Linked DNA regions of Homo sapiens: region 2 is linked to region 1. The links are contacts of gene promoters, found by promoter capture Hi-C in human tissues and cell types (Jung and others, 2019). All regions are on one chromosome and are shown on one strand. The core of a region is centred on a gene start or on the middle of the fragment in contact, and the rest is flanking DNA. Distances in the headings are between cores, read along the strand shown. Region 1 holds the start of CREBBP (CREB binding lysine acetyltransferase). Region 2 has its middle 31 kb from the start of ADCY9.

Region 1 (5,551 bases), core at 2,482-4,981:
CCACCCTTCACAGACACATCTAAGTGACACTGGTGGCCCCACAGGCCAGTCTCTACAGACATGCACTGCAGTCCAAGTAGATCCTGTTTCTCAGGCTGCCAAGGGCTCCTCCTCCTTTCAACCCCTCAGCTCCTAGACAGAGGTCCCCTCCCTCAAATTTGATCACATGCACCGGGCACACACCCTGCTCCACTAGGCCCAATTTTCCCCTGGGAGCCTCAGAGACACATCCCGTCACTAAAATAAGATTGAGTTCCTCAAGAATGTTATTCTCAGGTCTGTCCCACCTAACCAAATGCCTTCAGTTTTTGAATGTATTTAATGTAAAAACTCAAGCCATTTATTTGTTTAAAATACATCCCTAAGATCTCTGTCCATCTCATTACTCAATTTCTTAGTGGAGCAGTTACAACAGACAAAGTGTCCCTCGTTTCTTTTGGAGACAGCGTCTCACTCCATTACCCAGGCTGGAGTGCAGTGGCGCGATCTTGGCTCACTGCAACCTCTGCCTCCCGAGTTCAAGCAATTGTCATGCCTCAGCCTCTCAAGTAGCTGGAATTACAGGTGCATGTCACCATGCCTGGCTATGTTTTTGTATTTTGAGTACAGATGGGGTTTCCCCATGTTGGCCAGGCTGGTCTTGAACTCCTGACCTGAAGTTGATCCACCAGCCTCCGCCTCCCAAAGTGCTGGGATTACAGGCATGAGCCATGGCGCCCAGCAGCCCCTTGTTTAATGTGCTTGATAATGAGCCCTTCCTTGGTCCCCCATACTAACAGACCCTTTCACAATAGTGTGATGGTGATGAATGTGTAACACATGACCCAACTTAAGTATGATGTTGACTTTCTACTTTGGATTAAATCGGAGCCATTTAAAGCTGACTTTTGGTCCCACGAAAGAGCCCCTGTGCCTTACAAGGATCAAAATTGTAAAGGAAGGGGGAAAAGGTGGTTAAGTGTGGAAAATCCTTTCTGATCAACTTATTAAGCATCTGATCATCCAATAATGGACACTACTATGGAAAAAGCTAACCTTTGGGCTCCATCTTGGAAACAGCTGGATGTACATATAAGGACATGCCTTTTTGTTAAGTCTTGTGTTACTAATTGTCCCCCTTTTTAAGACAAAATCTACAACAAATTCATTCAACAACAGCAAAGCTACAAAGCCATCCAGGTTACCAGTTTCAGAAGACAAGCTTCAAAGCTGAACTCGCCACGTATGACCTACGTCTCACAGAACTGAAGACTACTCAAACACAGCAAGATTAATGAAGCAACGGAGATCTGTTTTGCAGTACAACGGCATTTAAACTACTGTTTCCAAATTTCTCACTTCAATAAGTTCATTTTATAAGATTAACGTCAAACTCAACTTTTATCAGCTAAAAAGAAAAGCATTAGTGATTTTTATATACCATGAGCATCATTTACTCCTCCCCACTGTTTAACAAATTTTAACTAGATAAGAATCTCCTTATGATTGATCTTTAAAAATCGCTTTTCACTTCTACATTAATATTAAACGTCGCTTATCATAACTTGATTCCAGGAATTGTATTCAAACTTAAGCCACAAAATTCAGGTTTTGTTTCAACAGCAATAGCAGTTTTTTTTAATATGCTAGTGGTCGGTCACAGAACTATTTCCACAAGTTGAACAGCTGTGTCTAGTGCAAATCTGAAGGCAGCGATGTAATTCAATTTGGACTCATTCATTAGAAACTGATTTTCAGATGCTACCACTGCAAGACTACTGGAGAAATGCAAGCTGCGCTGGAGATGGAATTGTTCGCAGCGGCACACAAGTTTTTGCGGCAAAGGAGAGAGCTCTAAAAGAGGAAATACAACTAGTTCATGTTACCATGAACCAGCGCAGTGGGACCCAGAATTACTGAATTAATAGAAAACTAAATACTTCTCTTAAGCAGCTATGATAACTTAAGAAAGTTTCCAGGGAAGCCGTTTAATGAAAGGAAACAAACAAAAAGATGATTTATTCAGTATCCTGCTCCATTTTTTTGAAAAATTGGAATTCCTACATTCCTTAATTCTTTGTACATCTACACTGTGAAAGCAACACAAACTCAAATGGAGATTGCAGCCCAAATGAACTTAAACCTGCTGTTTAACTTTCTTTTGAAGTTATACATGGAAATGAAACACACCACAGCAACTTTCATGACATCTTGCTAACGAAGTTTGGGTTTTGAAAAATGGAATGACTAGTTGACTAAAAACACACACGCGCGCACACACACACACACACACACACACACAAAACAAGGAGTTTTGAAAATAAGCACTAAGCATCTTTCCAAGGAACTCACTCATTCCAAGAAACTTCGGTTCTAACTCGCAAGCTGGCGGCTGCTGTGAGTGTCCTCTGAATGCAGCCTGGTCAATGTGTCGCCAATCCAGAAAACACACTGCCCTACCTTTGGCCGCGATCTTGCTTTCTCTAAGCATCAAAGGTACCCTCCGCTGTCATTCCTCTGGACGGCCACGCGTGTGGACACGGCCGCGGATGGATGCGTAGGACATTACCAAACAAACCCACACGCTGCACTTTACTTCTTCCCTCCTGGAGTGCCACTAGGGTCCCCGCGAGGAGGGCTGATCGGGTGCGGGGAGGCCGAGTGCACCGGGCGTGTGCTGACCAACTCGGGCCCAGTGACAGTCCTGCGACGAACTTCCACCCTCCCGCGCGGGGCGAGGGGAACGGGCTGCGGGGCCTGCTCCGAGCTCCCGGCTCGATCGGTATCCGCGACCACGACCCCCGGACGCTCTCTTTCAGGTGGGGGTGACAGCGCGCCCCGGGCCCCCGCCGCCCCGGACCCCCTCCTCACCTGTGCTGTCATTCGCCGAGAAACCGGGCGAGCTGAGTTTGGCTCTTTTGGGGTTGGGCGGTCCGTCCAGCAAGTTCTCAGCCATTTTCACCTGCTCGCGAAAACAGCCCCGGGCACGGGCGGCCGGGCCGGCGAGGGCCCGGACGGGGGTCGGGGGCCCTGCCGGCTGCGAGGGAGAGGAGCGAGCGCGGGCCGCGAGCGGGCGGGCGGGCGCCGAGGGAGAGGGAGGGCGCAGGCCGGGTGGGGGAGGCGGCGGCCAAATCTCAGCCACAGCAACAGCGCCCCGCAGCGCTCACCGCCCGCCCCCGGCCGCCGCCGCCGCCGCCGGCCGCGGCCCCCTCATCCCCTGCCCGCCTCCCGAGCGCGACACTCCGCGGTGGGGGCGCCCCGGCGGCCCGGCCGCCCCCCCGGGCCCGGCTGGCAGCGACGGCGCCCGGCCGGGCGGCTCAGGCAGTCCCCGAGAACATGGTGCCGCCGCCGCCGCCGCCTCGCTCCCCCCCCGCGCCCCACTTAATGAATTCGCTCGCGGCCCGACGACGAGGGGGCTCCGGGCTCCGCTCCCGGCCCGCGGCCCGCCGCCGCCGCCGCCGTGAGGAAAAACAATGCGCCGAGCGGGGTCGCCGCCGCCGCCGCGGCCCCCCCACCCCCCGTTCCGCCGCCGCCGCCGCCGCTGCCGCCGCCGCCGCCGCCGGGCTCCGGGAGGCCGAGCCGAGAGGCGAGCGGGGCCGCCGGGGCGGGCGCCGAGGGCCGGGCGGAGCGGGCCGGCCGGGCGGAGCGGGGTGCGCGGGCGGTTGTGGGGCCCGGGACCGGCGGGGCCGAGTAGATCGCGCTCGAAGCCCCGGTCGGGTCCGCGACAAGATGGCGGCTGTTGATTCCTCAATTAAAAAAAAAAGAAAGTTTTTTTTCTTCTCTTTCCAGAGCCTGAACGGGGAGGGGGTGGGGGCGGGGCACGCCGGTGCGTCACCCCCCCGCGGCGTCACCACGCACGGCCCCCGCCCCGCCCCCTCCACCTGCGCCGGCCGTGGCGGAAAGAGCCGAGCGTGCTCGGGCCGAAGGGCTGAAGGCGCGGCCGCCAAGCGTAGGGAAGCTGGCGGCCCGGCGCGGGCCAGGCCTGCGGGGCGCCTGGGCTCCGGGCTGAGCCACAGCTTTTGTTCTGATGGCGACCAGGCGTAGAGGGCCGGGGCTCCGGGCCCCAGCGGGCTCCGGGAGCGGCGGCCTGGCCGCGGGCTGGGCTCTCGGGCGCGGATTCGACGCCAGCCCGGGCCCGCCCGTCCCGCTGGGGCGGCGCTGCGTGTTCCCAGCTCCTCGCGTCCCCTTCCCCAGACCCTCCTAGGTGGCGTCGGTCGGGAACGGTCGGGGCGACCCCAGCCCAGGCCGCGCCACTAGCCTTCGCCGCCGGCCAGGGAAGTGGAATGGCCTCTGCAGGTTACAGACCGCCCTTGGGTCCTGCCGACGAGGTGGGCGGATGGGGAAACTGAGGCGGGGGGCGAGCAACTGCTCCAAAGTGGTCGAGGCAGGAAGTGGCAGGGCCGGGATTCGGGTCCCGCCCTACCTCGTGACACTAGGGAGTGAGGGGGCCTCACGCCTGTTCGCATCCCAAGGCGGCAGGGCAGACACCCTCACCTGTGAGAGCGGGGTGGCGAGGGCCGGCCTGGGCGGAGAAGGGCCCGCGCATCGGGGCTTAAGCCTGGACGCTCAGGCCGCACTCCCCGCCCCAGGCAACTTGCCTGGCGCCTCGCAGGTGCCCCAGACAGGGGTGCGGGCCTGGGGAGTCCCCCACGCGAGACCACAGCCCGCGGGACACTTCTACGAATACCCGAGGTGTTCCCATCCCAGTTAGTTATCTGCCCCTCCAAACTTGCCCGGCTTCCTCATAAAGGTATCAGCAGCTCCACTGTTTCCTAAGCCAGAAACCCGTGAGTCAGCGCGGACTCCTCCCTCTCACCCGCCACGCGCCCCTCTACCCACGGTCTTTACCTGGGAGACTGCTCCTCCCGCACTGTCCCGGTGGCTATGGTGGCAGCTACTCACTTAAGTGTTCTTTGCTCTCCACGTTGCTCCCCACGCAGCACCAGAGTTAACATCCCGAAAAGAGAGGGAGAAAATCTGTTTAAAACAACTCCCTGGCCAGGCGCGGTGGCAGATCACCTGAGGTCAGGAGTTCAAGACCAGCCTGGCCAACATGGTGAAACCCCATCTCTACCAAAAATACAAACATTAGCTGGGCGTGGCGGCGTGCGCCTGTAATCCCAGCTACTCGGGAGGCTGAGATGCGAGAATCACTTGAACTGGGGAGGCCAGTAAGCCGGGATCTCGCCATTGCACTCCATCCTGGGCGACAAGAGTGAAACTCCGTCTCAAAAACAAAACAAAACAAAACAAAATCCCAGACATAGAAAAAGAAAACACTACATAGTCTTTCTTTAAAAAAGAACACGTATGAATTCTCTTAAAAACATAGGTGTATGTACATATGGTGACTGTCCTTGAGTGTCAAGATTGAGTGATCGTTCTGCTTTTCTCTGTTTACCTGTACTGCTCAAAATCTTGGGCCGTGATACCGCTCTTGAATCTGTCTCTTCTACTTTACATGGCTCACTTCACCATCATCATCCTACACCCACTTGGCCAGTAGGCAGTTCACATCATTCAGGCTTTTTTTTTTTTTTTTTCAAATGCTGGTCCCTGTGCTGAGAAGACA
Region 2 (5,597 bases), core at 1,314-3,813, 270 kb after region 1:
GTAGCATGGGACCCCTTAAAAGTGAAATTGGCCGGGTGCAGTGGCTCATGCTTGTAATTCCAGCACTTCAGGAGGCCAAGGCAGGAGAATTGCTTGAGCCCAGGAGTTCAAGACCAGTTTGGGCAACATAGTGAGGCCCCATCTCTAAATATATATATATATATATATATATATATATATATATATATATATATATATATATATATATGTACACACAAAAATCAGCCAGGCGCGGGCCAGGCGCGGTGGCTCACACCTGTAATCCTAGCACTTTAGGAGCCCAAGGCGGGCAGATCACGAGGTCAGGAGATCCAGACCATCCTGGCTAACACGGTGAAACCCCATCTCTACTAAAAATACAAAAAATTAGCCAGGCGTGGTGGCGGGCGCCTGTAGTCCCAGCTACTTGGGAGGCTGAGGCAGGAGAATGGCATGAACCTGGGAGGCAGAGCTTGCAGTGAGCTGAGATCACGCCACTGCACTCCAGCCTGGGTGACAGAGCGAGACTCCATCTCAAAAAAAATTAGCCAGACGTGGTGGCATGTGCCTGTGGTCCCAGCTGCTCAGGAGACTGAGAAAGGAGAATCTCTTGAACCTGGGAGGCAGAGGTTACAGTGAGCCGAGATCACGCCACTGCACTCAAGCCTGGGTGACAGAATGAGACTCCGTATAAAAAACCAACAAACAAACACAAAATGTCTTTCAGCAGCATGGTGGCTGACACCTATAATCCCAGAACTTTGGCAGGCCAAAGTATGAGTATCGAGGCCAGGAGTTCAACATCAGCCTGGGCAACATAGCAAGACTCTGTTTCTATACAAATTTTTTAAAACTTAACTAGACCAGGCATGGTGACTCACACCTGTAATCCCAACACTTTGGGAGGCTGAGGTGGGAGAATCACTTGAGCTCAGGAGTTCGAGACCAGCCTGTCCAACATGGTGAAACCCTGCCTCTACTAAAAACACAAAAATTAGTCAGGCATGGTGGCAGGCACTTGTAATCCCAGCTACTCGGGAGGCTGAGGCAGGAGAATTGCTTGAACCCAGGAGGCAGAGGTTGCAGTGAGCCAAGATCTAGCAACTGCACTCCAGCCTGGGGAACAGAGAGACTCTGTCTCAAAAATAAATAAATAATAATTAACCAGACCACAGGCCTGCAGTCCCAGCTACTCAGGGAGGCTGAAGAGGGAGGATCTCTCGAGCCTAGGGTGTCGAGGCTGCAGTGAACCATGACCCCACCACTGCATTCACTTCCGTCTGGGTGACAGAGACAGACTCTGCCTCCAAAAACAAAAAATTAATTCTGGGGGGTTCCTCCCCTGAAGAGCTTTTCTTGAGAGATCATGAATTGACTCATGGTAAAGTGTTAGAAACAGTGTCAAATGGATCTTGAAGAGCTCATGACCCTGCCCAATGCAGGCGTCTCTGTAGCATCTGCTTGTTTATTCCAGGGATACAGAAATCAGAGTCCCAGGAAGCCTGTCCCGTGGCTGTACAGCTCCTTGAAAGCTCCTCCCCTCCCAATATGGCATTGGGAGCAAATATTCTCCTACTTCAAGGCAGTATTGAAAGCTCCCCAAGCACCTCTCCTGCGAACCCCAGCTTTCCCAGGTCTTCCTTGCAGCCTTTCTCTCTTTTTTTTTTTTTTGAATCAGGGTCTCACTCTGTCACCCAGGCTGAAGTGCAGTAGCATGAATGTGGCTCACTGCAGTCTCAACCTACTGGGCTCAAGGAGATATTCTCCTGCCTCAGCCTCCTAAGTAGCTGGGACCACTGGTGTGCACCATCACATCCAGCTAATTTTTTTTTGGTGGGGGTGTGGGTGGAGTTTCGCTCCTGTCACCCAGGCTGGAGGGCAGTGGTGCAATCTCTGCTCACTGCAACCTCCGCCTCCTGGGTTCAAGTGATTCTCCTGCCTCAGCCTCCTGAGTAGCTGGGGTTACAGGCACGCGCCACCACACTTGGCTAATTTTTGTATTTTTAGTAGAGATGGGGTTTCACTTTGTTGGCCAGGCTGGTCTCGAACTCCTTAGCTCAGATTATCCATTTGCCTCAGCCTCCCAAAGTCCCTCAGCTGGGATTACAGGCATGAGCCACCACACCCAGCCCCAGCTAATTCTTAAAATTGTTATAGAGATGGGGTCTCCCTATGTTGCCCAGGCTCGTCTCAAACTCCTGGGCTCAAAGATCCTCCCACCTCAGCCTCCTGAAGTGCTGGGATGACGGGTGTGAGCTGCCATGCCGGGCCTGGCCTGCCTTTCAGACTCCCCGCTATCCAGGATGCCTCTGATTGGCCCCTCCAAATTATCAGTAAGACCTCTGCCTATGTGAGACAAAACTGCAAAGACAAAGTATGGTGTCCCAATTATTTTTGTGTATGCACCCACACATTGACGTAGCCTAGTAACCTAGAGAAAACAAAAGGCTTCCAACTGAGGGAGCACAAGAGCTCCAAGGGCAGTCACAGTTGTGTGAGGGTGGCACCCCTGGATACCAGCGGCAGCGATTCCGAGTCAGTTCTCACAGTGGGTAGGCATTACGGTGGGGAGGCTTGTGGAATAAGGAAGAGAGGAAGCTTAGCCACGGCGCCAGCCCTCAAAGGAGCCTTGGGAAAGTCAAAACACCTAAGCCTTCTGGGGAAAGCAAGAGTCCCAGGAGAGCGAGGCCCCCCAGGCACCGGAAGTGGAAGTCCACTGGAAACCCAAGGCTGCTCCGACAGCAGCCTGTCTGGTAGACCCTCAGGCAACTGCCATTCATGGGCCCCTTCCACAGTGCTCTGCCATTAAAGCCACTCAGCTTCCTTCTCTGCCTCTTCTCATCCATTTCTTGGCTTCTCCTGTCCTACCAAATCCGTGGTTGGTACTACATTTTCTAGTCCCGTAGGGCAGGGCTGTCCAAGCCTGGGCCTCACCAAGGCCACTGGCCACTGTTGCTCAGGGGGAAGCCTCACACTGTGCATCAGAAGCTGGAGACACTGCAGCTTCTCTCAGGAGGGGACCGTAAGCACAGGCAGCCTGTGGCTGATCTGTGTGGGACACCCAGGGTCGAGAAGGGAGGACCAAGGTGTTCACTGCAATGGAACACAGCCTTACTAGCTGTCATGTCCCCCAGACAGCAAATTGGCTTGATTGCAATAACCAGTTGGAGAGGACAAAGTGAGAATCACCCCATGTGACCAGCTGCTTCTTGACGGTGATCATTTTGGGTGCTGAATCGAGCTCCAACCCCAAACATCAGCCCCATAATTGCCCATCAACCATTTCACCTTCACCTTTCTGGGGCTTCCAGGTTCCTTCATTAAAATAAAAAATGCTATTTGGGAATAAATTTAACAAAAGATATGCAAATCTTTTCCACTGAAAGCTGTAACACATTATTGAAAGAAATTACAGAAAATCTAAATAAATGAAGAAATGTACCATGTTCATGGATTAGAAAATTCAATATTGTTAAAATGTCAATTGTCTCAAATTAATCTATAGACTCAATGTAATCCCAAGTAAAATTCCAGAATGCAGACTGGCATGGCCAAAGCAGAAGGATCACTTGAGCTCAGGAGTTTGAGACCAGCCTAGGCAACATGACAAAACCTCATCTCTACAAAAAAATAGAAGTGTTAGCCAGTCATGGTGGAATGTGTCTGTAGTCCCAGCTACTCAGGAGACTGAGGTGGGAGGACTGCTTGAGCCCAGGAGGGTGAAGCTACAGTGACTATGATCATGCCACTGCACTCCAGCCTGGGTGACAGAAAAAGACCCTCTCTCAAAAAAAAAAAAAAAAAAAATTAAAAAAAACCAGAAAGCTTTTTTTAGAAATTGGCAAGCAGATTCTAAAATGTAAGTGGAAATGAGAAGGACCTAGAATAGCCAAAATAATCCTAATAAGGAAAAAATTCAGAGGACTTACACTGGCTGATTTTAAGAACTGCTATAAACAGCAGTAGCTAAGACCATTTGGTAGTGGCGTTAGGATACACAAAATAGAATCAATGGAGCAGAAAACAGAGTCCAAAAATAGACCTACATAAATATGGCCAACTGATTCCCAACAAATGTACCAAGGTAATTCAATGGAGAAAGAAAAACCTTTCAACAAATGGGCTAGAATAATTGTCTATTTGTAAGGAAAAACAAATTGCCTATTTGTAAGGAAAACAAATGAACCTCAACTCCTTTTTTTTTTTTTTTAAGACAGAGTCTCACTCTGTCGCCCAGGCTGGAGTGCAGTGGTGCCATCTCGGTTCACTGCAAGCTCCACCTCCCAGGTTCACGCCATTCTCCTGCCTAAGCCTCCCTAGTAGCTGGGACTACAGGCACCCGCCACCACGCCTGGCTAATTTTTTGTATTTTTTTTTTTTTAGTAGAGACAGGGTTTCACCGTGTTGGCCAGGATGGTCTCGATCTCCTGACCTCGTGATCTGCCCGCCTTGGCCTCCCAAAGTGCTGGGATTACAGGCGTGAGCCACCGCACCCGGCCCCTCAACTTCTTACATCACACCAAAAAATTAAATTGAAATAGATCCAAGACCTAAATAAAAAATTAAATTCATAAAGCATCTAAAACATAGGAAAATAACTTCATGACTTTGAGATGGGCAAATATTTCTAAGGCAAAACACAAAAAGCATTCCATAAAAAATTAATAAACAAATTCATCAAAATTTTAAATTTTGAGTACAGTCACCAGAATGGCTACAATTAAGCAGACTGACAACACCAAATGTTGGCAAAAATATGGAGTAACTAGAACCGTCGTATGTTGTTGATGGGAGTGTAAAATAACAAAACCGCTTTGGGCCAAGCACGGTGGCTGACGCCTGTAATCCCAGCACTCTGGGAGGCCAAGGCGGGCGGATCATGAGGTCAGGAGATAAGACCATCCTGGCAACCAAAAATTAGCCAGGCTTGGCAGTGTGCGCCTGTAGTCCCACCTACTCGGGAGGCTGAGGCAGGAGAATTGCTTGAACCCGGGAGGCGGAGCTTGCAGTGAGCCAAGATGGTGCCACTGCACTCCAGCCTGGCGACAGAGCGAGACTCCGTCTCAAAAACAAAACAAAAAAAAACTGCTTTGGAATACTGTCTAATGGTTTCCTTTTTTTTTTTTTTTTTTTTTTTTTTTTTTGAGACCGGGTCTCTTTCTGTTGCCCAGGCTGGAGTGAGATGGTACAATCACTGCTCACTGCAGCCTCAACCTCCTGGCCTCAAGCCATCCTCCTGCCTAAGCTTCCCAAGCAGCTGGGACTACAGGCATGCACCACCAGGCCCAGCTAAATTTTTCTTTTTCTTTTCTTTTCCTTTTTTTTTTTTTTTTTTTGAGACCGAGTCTCGCTCTGTTGCCCAGGCTGCAGTGCAGGGGCATGATCTTGGCTCACAGCAACCTCCACCTCCTGGGTTCAAGCTATTCTCCTGCCTCAGCCTCCCAAGTAGCTGGAACTAGAGGCATGCACCACCACACCCAGCTAATTTTTGTATTTTTAGTAGAGATGGGGTTTCACCACGTTGGCCAGGCTGGTCTCGAACTCCTGACCTCAGGTGATCAGTCTGTCTCGGCCTCCCAAAGTGCTGGGATTACAGGCATGAGCCACCGCGCCCGGCC

What was found. Contacts are between HindIII fragments. The study calls those that stand out against the background at their distance.
Region 2: a contact is called between a fragment that was not itself captured here and the fragment with the promoter of CREBBP in region 1, in 1 of the 25 tissues and cell types used here (small bowel).

What each region holds. Positions count from the first base shown.
Region 1 is chr16:3,876,982-3,882,532 of GRCh38, forward strand. CREBBP (CREB binding lysine acetyltransferase) reads right to left here and starts at 3,732. Exons shown (of 31, transcript NM_004380.3): 1 at 2,851-3,732. The coding sequence starts at 2,935. RefSeq lists silencers at 2,721-2,770, 2,851-2,900, 2,941-3,250, 3,588-3,637, 3,658-4,207 and an enhancer at 3,411-3,987. The HindIII fragment of the contact is 21,091 bases long and covers 517-5,551 here.
Region 2 is chr16:4,144,901-4,150,497 of GRCh38, forward strand. No RefSeq gene overlaps it. Among named protein-coding and RNA genes, the nearest start is that of ADCY9, 31 kb to the left of the region's middle. RefSeq lists an enhancer at 2,254-2,785. The HindIII fragment of the contact is 3,902 bases long and covers 613-4,514 here.